Linked DNA regions of Homo sapiens: regions 1 and 3 are each linked to region 2. Evidence: promoter capture Hi-C in human tissues and cell types (Jung and others, 2019). All regions are on one chromosome and are shown on one strand. The core of a region is centred on a gene start or on the middle of the fragment in contact, and the rest is flanking DNA. Distances in the headings are between cores, read along the strand shown. Region 1 overlaps P3R3URF-PIK3R3 (P3R3URF-PIK3R3 readthrough). Region 2 holds the start of TMEM53 (transmembrane protein 53). Region 3 overlaps SLC2A1 (solute carrier family 2 member 1).

Region 1 (2,839 bases), core at 215-2,714, 1.5 Mb before region 2:
GTTGGGATTACAGACGTGAGCTACTGCTTGCCCCCTACCACCTCACTTTTCTTTGAAATCTTCCTGTAGTCAATCCCTGGGAGGCAGGCCACTATTCCTCATCTATAGATGAGAAAACCGAGGCTCAGAAATGGACAGCTCTGGACCACACCTCACAGTGCCTGGGGAGCAGCCCAGGGGAGATGGCAGGCAGGTGGAGAAGGAAGTGGTGGCACACTGGGACAGTTGGCACAGGTGCAGGAGGAGCAGGCCAGGCCAAGCCACCGAATCGGGAGGTGAGGGGGAGGAGGATGATGGCCTGAGGGTTCATGCCAGGAGGAGGGCTTCCCGCTCCAGCCAGCCTCAGGCAGCCACTGGAAAATCGGGTTTGGCAGCTTCAGCCATGTGCTGCAGGACTGGAAGAAGGTCCAGGCTGCTCCTGGGAGGCAGCCTAGCACGGGCTCTTCCTCTAGCCCTGAGTTTCACCACCTGGCTAGTTGGGGGAGTATTACTTTATAATTCTGGGACCCTTTGGACCGTGAAGAGAACAGCTCTGGGCTAGAGGCAGGAGCCCGGAGCTTCAGTCTTGGTTCTGCCCCAAGCCCTGATCTGATCCTTGGAGTGTCCTGGCCCCTCTCTTCGCCTCTGTGGCTCCGCTCTAGAGAAATAGGTTCCCCAGACCCCAACTCCTGCCCCCGAGATTTTCCTGGGAGTCTGACTCAGGCACAGGAACACAGAGTCAGTGGGTAAGGGCACGAACAGACAGCCCCTGGGGCGCCAGGCTGGAGGTCGCTTGTCACTAATAGGTCAATGGCCGGAAGCCCAGCTCCAACCCCACAATGCAATACCGGTCACCCCACCCTTACCAGTGCCCTCACCCACACCCCCACTTCCGGCCTCTGTTCCTTCCTCACCTCTGGGGAAGGCTGCAGGGCTCCCTAGGGAATGTCCCCTGGTTCCTCCACTGGCTCTCTGCCCAGTGCTTAACCCTTCTTCCCACACCTACCCATTCAGCCAGGGCAGTCTCCCACAAAACTTTCTCTCCCTGGACCATGGGGCAGTGCAAGGAGGACAGGAAGCTGGGTGGAAGGACTGCAAAGGAGACTGCTTTTCCTGCTACCCTCAGGTACTGAAGCCCAAGTAAGAGTTTTCAGTAGAGAGGGAGTAGACTGAGTGTTGGGCCCTAGGACTGGGCTTCCCTGGGTACTATCCCAACCCCTGAGCCTCGGGAGAGGTGGAAATGACCTTCCTCTGCACCGGCATGCCCAGAGAAGAGAGCCTGGAGCTGAGACTTGCAACTTCTAGAAAACAAACACAAAACTGAGGCCAAGAGAGTGCTGACTACTATTACCAACAAAATTCATTAAACACAATTTTAAAAAATCATGAAATTCTAGATTCATGGAGTTCACAGTTATGGAATCTTAGCATCACAGAATTCCAGCATGGTAAAATCTGGGTTATAGAAACTAAGAAATTCAGAATTGTGGCATTACTGAGTTCCAGATGACAAAATTAGAATATCCTTGAAATGGACATCTTGAGAAATCAATTAATAAAGCCCTTACATTCAGGTGGCTGTCTAAACTAGAGGATTTCCTGCTGGGGATAGGCAAAGGTGTCCACACATGAACACTGAGGGGAGGTAGGGAGCCTGGGACACATAAGCTTAAACCAGGCAGGGCCAGGCGCGGTGGCTCGCGCCTGTAATCCCAGCACTTTGGGAGGCTGAGGCTGGTGGATCACCTGAGGTCAGGAGTTTGAGACCAGCCTGGCCAATATGGTGAAGCCCCGTCTCTACTAAAAATACAAAAATTAGCCAGGCTTGGTGGCAGGTACCTGTAATCCCAGCTATTTGGGAGGCTGAGGCAAGAGAATCGCTTGAACCTGGGAGGCAGAGGTTGCAGTGAGCCGAGATCATGCCATTGCACTCCAGCCTGGGGGACGAGAGCTAGACTTTGTCTCAAAACAAACAAACAAACAAACAAACACCAAACCAGACAGAAGACAGACTTTGTCCATGAGAACACATTTCTGGTTCCTGAAGATGAGGGGCAGGGGGCAGCAGGTGGGGATAGAGAAAGCAGAATTATACAAACAAAGAAAACATAACCTAAAGAAAGAATCATCAAGTAGCATAATATGCTGACCCCAGCATCTCCAGCTTCCCCATAACTGCAGTTACCATCAGCCCAGGACATTTCCTTCCAAAGGTTAGTAAGACTTCTTATCATATTGGAATGGCTATCTTTTTTGGGAAGAAAGGTACCGAACAGAAAATACTCCATGCTTTTCTCGGGGTGGCTGGGAGGAATAGACTGTCTTCAAAGGTGCTAAGCCCTGAGCCACATGATGCACACCGAAGCCACTCCATGTGGTGGGGTTCAGAGCTCCCAGCAAGGCCCTGATAGAGGACCCTGTGGAGAGCACCTGGGTGGGGTTGTGCCTAGGGGGGCTGATCATCTCTATAGAAGGAGCCAATCTTGAGGCAAAATTTGTATGGGGACCCTTGTCCAATCTTTGGGGCTGGTTATTCAGCAAACAACAAAGGTATTTACCTAGCACTTCTGGGAAACTACTGCAAACTCAGGAACCCAGAAGGAGCAGTTCCAAAGACAGGCAAATGCCAGGCCCTGCTGGGCATGGGAAATGGGGCAATGTCAGCTGAAGGTCTTCTTGCTCAGCTGTCTGTCCTTGGATTCAGCTCAATACCTCAGCCCTGACCTCTACTCACACGCCCATTTGCCTCCCTCTCCTTGCTTGCCTGCTGTTCTACCTACTTATACCTGCTGTGTGAACTTTGGCAAGTTCTATCCCATCTCTGGGCCTCAAATCTCCTTTGCTGTCTTTTGAAGTCTAA
Region 2 (2,881 bases), core at 162-2,661:
ACCTCCCAGGTTCAAGCCATTCTCCTGCCTCAGCCTCCCAAGTAGCTGGGATTACAGGTGTGCACCACCATGCCCGGCTAATTTTTGTATTTTTAGTAGAGATGGGGTTTCGCCATGTTGGCCAGGCTGGTCTCGAACTCCTGACCTGAAGTGATACGCCCGCCTCAGCCTCCCAAAGTGCTGGGATTACAGGGGTGAGACACCACACTGGGCTCTTTGTTTTGTTTTTTGAGACAGGGTCTCACTCTGTCACCCAGGCTGGAGTGCAGTGGCACAATCATGGCTTACTGCAGCTTTGACCTCCTGACTCAAGTGATCCTCCCACCTCAGCTTTCCAAGTAGCTGGGACTTCAGGCATGCGCTACCATGCCTGGCTAATTTTTAAAATTTTAATTTTGTAGAGATGAAGGTCTCACTATGTTGCCCAGGCTGGTCTTGAACTCCTTCAAGCCATTCTCCCGTCTTGGCCTTCCAAAGTGCTGGGATTACGAGTTTGAGCCACCGCGCCTGGCATGCAAAGAGTCTTTCCCCCTCCCTATCTCTAAAAGTCTTTCAAGGCCCAGCTCAAGAGCCAACCCCACTGCCATAAATGCCCCTTCTCTGATTCTGAGCTCCTCAAATCCTTACTCTTCTGTAGTATTTATCTCACACGCAGAATCAGAGTTGCTTCATGCATGGTTTCTCTCCCTCTCCCGTTAAGACATGGGAGAGGGAGGGCCAAAAGCTTGATTCTCACTAGGGCCTAAGGAACCTTATTTAGCCCACCCAGTCTCTGGCACATAGTATGTAAATATGCTGGCACATAGTATGTAAATATAGATAAATGCAAGAAAGTTGCACTCCCAGCTCCTCGGTGGGCCCTATCAACAGGGCATTCTCTAAAGTCATCAACTGAAGACTGCTTCCCATCCACCCATCCATCCATCCATCCATCCATCCATCCAGAATATGCCTCAACCCCACTGGGTGGAGGTTGGGTCGGCACGCGCCCCCTAGGCCGTTTTGTACGGTTTTATACCTCCAGCCCTCGCAGTTGCGGCTGGTAGAGGATGGCAGAGGTAGGTAGACGATGCAAGTCAAAGGGCACACTCTTCCGCCGCGTAGGATAGGACTCTGTTCGGACGAGTGACCCTGCCCATTCCCAGAATACAGCAACTCTTCAGCCGCCTCTCACCTACATGAGAGGGTGGGGACTCTTCCTGACCGGCGCCCCGGCTGACCAATACCTGATCCAGATCAAGCGAATTAGCCAATGGCTGCGGGTCAGTAATAGGGGCGGGGCATGGTTGCTAGGGCCGAGCTAGTGGGGTGAGGCGAGAGGCTCTGGAAGAGACTCGGTGGTTGCTAAGGCGGGAGGTCACAGAGCGCGGCGCAGGGATTGGGCCGTGTTGGGGGAGGTGTGTGGTGATTGGGCGGCGCCCAGGAGGCGCCCGGGTGAGGCACGGGTGCGCAAGCGGGAGTTCCGGCTGGAGACCCGTGCTCTGGGCCGGCGCCTTCACCATGGCCTCGGCAGAGCTGGACTACACCATCGAGATCCCGGATCAGCCCTGCTGGAGCCAGAGTATGGAATGAGGGTTGGGTCCAGGCGCGGGGAGGTGACCTCATGAACCTGTGGGTTGCGAGCGCAGCTGTAGCCCCGCCCCTCATGCGGCCCCGCCCTCCCTCGGGCCGCCCCCTCATAGGGTCTGGCAGGTCCTAGACTTAGAGAGGCTCAGAGAGCCCCGCCCCTCGTAAGTCCCGCCCCAGAGTGTTCCTCCCTGGCGAGCCCCGCCTCTGCCCGAGTCAGCTGCTCGCTTGGGACCTCTTTTTCTGTCTTTCCTGTCCGGGGTGCTCAGGTCCATGCCCTTTAATCACTTCTCATAGCTGAAGGCTGCCGAAAGCTGGATCCCTCCTGATTCCTTTGTTTGGGATTGGGCTTCCCACATCTAGCCTATCACTTATTATTTTCCCGAAGGCGTGGAGGGGGAGGCTCGCGGGGTCACCGATCCTCGCAGAAGCCCGGGACTCAGAACCCTTAGCCGTCCCTCTCCACTCTTCTCGGCAGTGGTTAACAGTGCAGTCTCTGCCGTCGGGTAGAACTCGACTGAAATCCTGACTCCTTCCTTTAGGAGCTGGATTACCTTTGGTAAGCTACCTTCTCTGAACTTCAGTTTCCTCCTCTGCAAAACCGGGATAAGGATAGTAACCTTCCTCATAGGGCTGTTGGGGCCATCTGGAGATTGTGTAAAGGGCCTGGCATGGAGTGAGTTCAGTAATTGGCATTTACGATCAGCATTGTTTCTCTCCTTACATTAAAGAAAGACATGTAGGATTCTCCACAAAATTAGGATTGACAGCAGGCCCGCATCCATGACAGTGTGAGTAGATCGGGGTCCAGAGAGTGGAAAGTTTGGTCTCTCTGGGAATTCTGGCAGAAGGGCCTTGAAGTATGATCAGCCTGAGGCCAGCGTGTCCCTCACTTGCATTAGTCCAGCATCGCCTTCACGCCTCCTGTCTCACTGCCTGCAGCCCAGCCTCTTAAACTGCTACCACAGTGATCTTTCTAATGCAAAGGTTTGATCTTATACTCTGCTCTCCATAAAACTTACCTCCTTAAGGAGAGCCTTCCCAGATCCCTCCCGTAGCATCTCATGTTCTTTGGTTGGAGTCTAGGAGAGGGCAGCCCTTAGACTCCCGCAGAACAGATGGCCCCAGACCAGCTGTTTTTCCCTAGAACTGGATCTGCTGGCTTAGCGCTTTTGGGTTTATAGATGTAAAAATACTTTGGACACGTTTTGGCGTCAGCAAGCCATGAAGTCAGTTAATATTATTTCCTTTGGAGAGTCTTCGGCTGCAAAGGGTTGGAGCTGCCTTCTGCACGGCCAGGAGGGCAGCCTCGTGG
Region 3 (2,729 bases), core at 1-2,500, 1.7 Mb after region 2:
TGCCACCATTGGCTCCGGTATCGTCAACACGGCCTTCACTGTCGTGTCGGTGAGTCTTTGCTTACTGGCCCCCCCAGCCAAACCCCAGGGAGGAGGCAGTGCCATCTTCCCCACTGGTCTTTGCAGTGCCCTGTGACTTTCTCAGCTCTTGAGGCAAGGCCTCTGGGTGGGTGGGTTCAGAAGGGCACTAGGCAGGGGTGGCACTGACACTGTCTCTGCCCACAGCTGTTTGTGGTGGAGCGAGCAGGCCGGCGGACCCTGCACCTCATAGGCCTCGCTGGCATGGCGGGTTGTGCCATACTCATGACCATCGCGCTAGCACTGCTGGTGAGTTGCTAGGTTCTGGAGAGTGAGGGATGCGGGAGAGTTTGCCTGGGCTTCATATCCCAAAATGCCTGTCTCAGCCCCAGGCTGGCAGGCCTTTTGGTGGCTGCATTCTCCCTGGCTGTGGGTCTGACTTTCTGGCTCCTGAAGTTGTCTCCTTCCAAACCACACACATCCTCTCTTGAACTTGCTCCTCCCTGCTTGATGGATTCTCAGCGCAGCACCTCTGGTCCCAGACCCCAAACTCTCACCTCCTTAAGGAATTGCTTTGCCTAATATTAACCCTTTCCAATCTTCATCTGTAGCCTCAATTCATCTTCACAGCAACCCCGGGAAGTAGTGCTGTCCTCCCCATAGAGGCGCAGAAACATGCCTTGCCTCATTCAGTTCACACGACTGGAGGTGTAGTTCAGTTCTTCCCATTTTATGGGGGAGGAAGCTTAAGTCCCAGTGAGGTTAGTAACTTGTCAGATAAAGGATGAAGCCAGGAATCAACCTCAGTCCCAGGCCTGTGACTGTGACCGCTGTGCTAACCCTGTGCCTGGCACTCACACACAGGCACTCGTTTATTTAGCCTCTGGGCAAGGAAAGCACCATGACTGTCATTTTACAGCTCAACCTGGGCTTGGAAAGTTTGGTGGTTGCCGAAAGGCCAGACAGGCAGCAAGTGGAAAGCCCATAAATTTTCTACCCTGGCCTCCTCAAGAATGGTTATATGCAGAACCGTATGCTTAGCGCTTACTCTGTGCCAGCCTGAGCTGGGCACCTCACACGCCTTAGAACCTGAATCCACCCCACCCCCAGGAATGTTCTGCATCCTGCCACAGGCGGACTGTGCTGCAGGCACAGACAGGGGACCATGGGGCCTCTTAGCACCGTCCACATGCACACCACATTACCACTCCCAGCGGGTGGACTCAACACTTGCAGCCACCCTGCAGGACTTAAATCATTTTGTTCGGATGAGGAAACTTAGGCCCAATGCTGGATACACAACAAATCCAGGACCATCCCCAGGCTTCCTGCCTTCTCGCATAGCTCTGCTCTGGCCTCTGTAGCTTCTGTTTCCCCTGAGGATCCATCACAACCCAGTCTAACTTTTCCCCCTCTCCGTCATCCTCAACAGGAGCAGCTACCCTGGATGTCCTATCTGAGCATCGTGGCCATCTTTGGCTTTGTGGCCTTCTTTGAAGTGGGTCCTGGCCCCATCCCATGGTTCATCGTGGCTGAACTCTTCAGCCAGGGTCCACGTCCAGCTGCCATTGCCGTTGCAGGCTTCTCCAACTGGACCTCAAATTTCATTGTGGGCATGTGCTTCCAGTATGTGGAGGTGAGAACCCCCACTGTCTCTATACTCACCCGCACGCATGACCCCACAGTGCTGTGCAAAGTGCTGGCCCAGCATTCTCATTAGGAATCATGCTGAGGAGGAAACTGAGGGTAGGAAGCCCAGGTCACATGACCAAGAATGCTGACCTCAACTCCAGGGTTCTCCCCTTAGCCTTGAATGGTGCTCCTGGAGCCTGTTACATTCTAGGTACAAGCGTGGTCTCAGTTAATTATGATAGCATCCCTGGGTAGGTGGATGTTCCCTTTTCAGCTCAAAGGCCCAAAGGTAAAGTGACTTATCCAAAGTCCTACAGCCAGGATGTAGGGTCATGACTCCAACCAAGTGTGTCTGTGTGTCTTTCAGCAACTGTGTGGTCCCTACGTCTTCATCATCTTCACTGTGCTCCTGGTTCTGTTCTTCATCTTCACCTACTTCAAAGTTCCTGAGACTAAAGGCCGGACCTTCGATGAGATCGCTTCCGGCTTCCGGCAGGGGGGAGCCAGCCAAAGTGACAAGACACCCGAGGAGCTGTTCCATCCCCTGGGGGCTGATTCCCAAGTGTGAGTCGCCCCAGATCACCAGCCCGGCCTGCTCCCAGCAGCCCTAAGGATCTCTCAGGAGCACAGGCAGCTGGATGAGACTTCCAAACCTGACAGATGTCAGCCGAGCCGGGCCTGGGGCTCCTTTCTCCAGCCAGCAATGATGTCCAGAAGAATATTCAGGACTTAACGGCTCCAGGATTTTAACAAAAGCAAGACTGTTGCTCAAATCTATTCAGACAAGCAACAGGTTTTATAATTTTTTTATTACTGATTTTGTTATTTTTATATCAGCCTGAGTCTCCTGTGCCCACATCCCAGGCTTCACCCTGAATGGTTCCATGCCTGAGGGTGGAGACTAAGCCCTGTCGAGACACTTGCCTTCTTCACCCAGCTAATCTGTAGGGCTGGACCTATGTCCTAAGGACACACTAATCGAACTATGAACTACAAAGCTTCTATCCCAGGAGGTGGCTATGGCCACCCGTTCTGCTGGCCTGGATCTCCCCACTCTAGGGGTCAGGCTCCATTAGGAT

The links. Contacts are between HindIII fragments. The study calls those that stand out against the background at their distance.
Region 1: a contact is called between a fragment that was not itself captured here and the fragment with the promoter of TMEM53 in region 2, in 1 of the 25 tissues and cell types used here (psoas muscle).
Region 3: a contact is called between a fragment that was not itself captured here and the fragment with the promoter of TMEM53 in region 2, in 1 of the 25 tissues and cell types used here (small bowel).

What each region holds. Positions count from the first base shown.
Region 1 is chr1:46,169,543-46,172,381 of GRCh38, reverse strand. All of the region lies in intron 1 of P3R3URF-PIK3R3 (P3R3URF-PIK3R3 readthrough), which reads left to right. It also overlaps a transcript of PIK3R3 not described here. Among named protein-coding and RNA genes, the nearest start is that of TSPAN1, 4.1 kb to the left of the region's middle. The HindIII fragment of the contact is 4,459 bases long and covers 1-2,839 here.
Region 2 is chr1:44,673,011-44,675,891 of GRCh38, reverse strand. It overlaps TMEM53 (transmembrane protein 53), which reads left to right and starts at 1,411. Exons shown (of 3, transcript NM_024587.4): 1 at 1,411-1,561. The coding sequence starts at 1,501. It overlaps ARMH1 (armadillo like helical domain containing 1), which reads right to left and starts at 1,178. Exons shown (of 12, transcript NM_001145636.2): 1 at 1,019-1,178. RefSeq lists silencers at 1,239-1,288, 1,359-1,408, 1,559-1,698 and an enhancer at 1,466-1,967. The HindIII fragment of the contact is 6,219 bases long and covers 1-2,881 here.
Region 3 is chr1:42,926,530-42,929,258 of GRCh38, reverse strand. It overlaps SLC2A1 (solute carrier family 2 member 1), which reads left to right. Exons shown (of 10, transcript NM_006516.4): 7 at 1-49; 8 at 226-327; 9 at 1,451-1,654; 10 at 2,018-2,729. The coding sequence ends at 2,218. Among named protein-coding and RNA genes, the nearest start is that of SLC2A1, 31 kb to the left of the region's middle. RefSeq lists enhancers at 1-31, 32-674, 1,706-2,205. The HindIII fragment of the contact is 6,588 bases long and covers 1-2,729 here.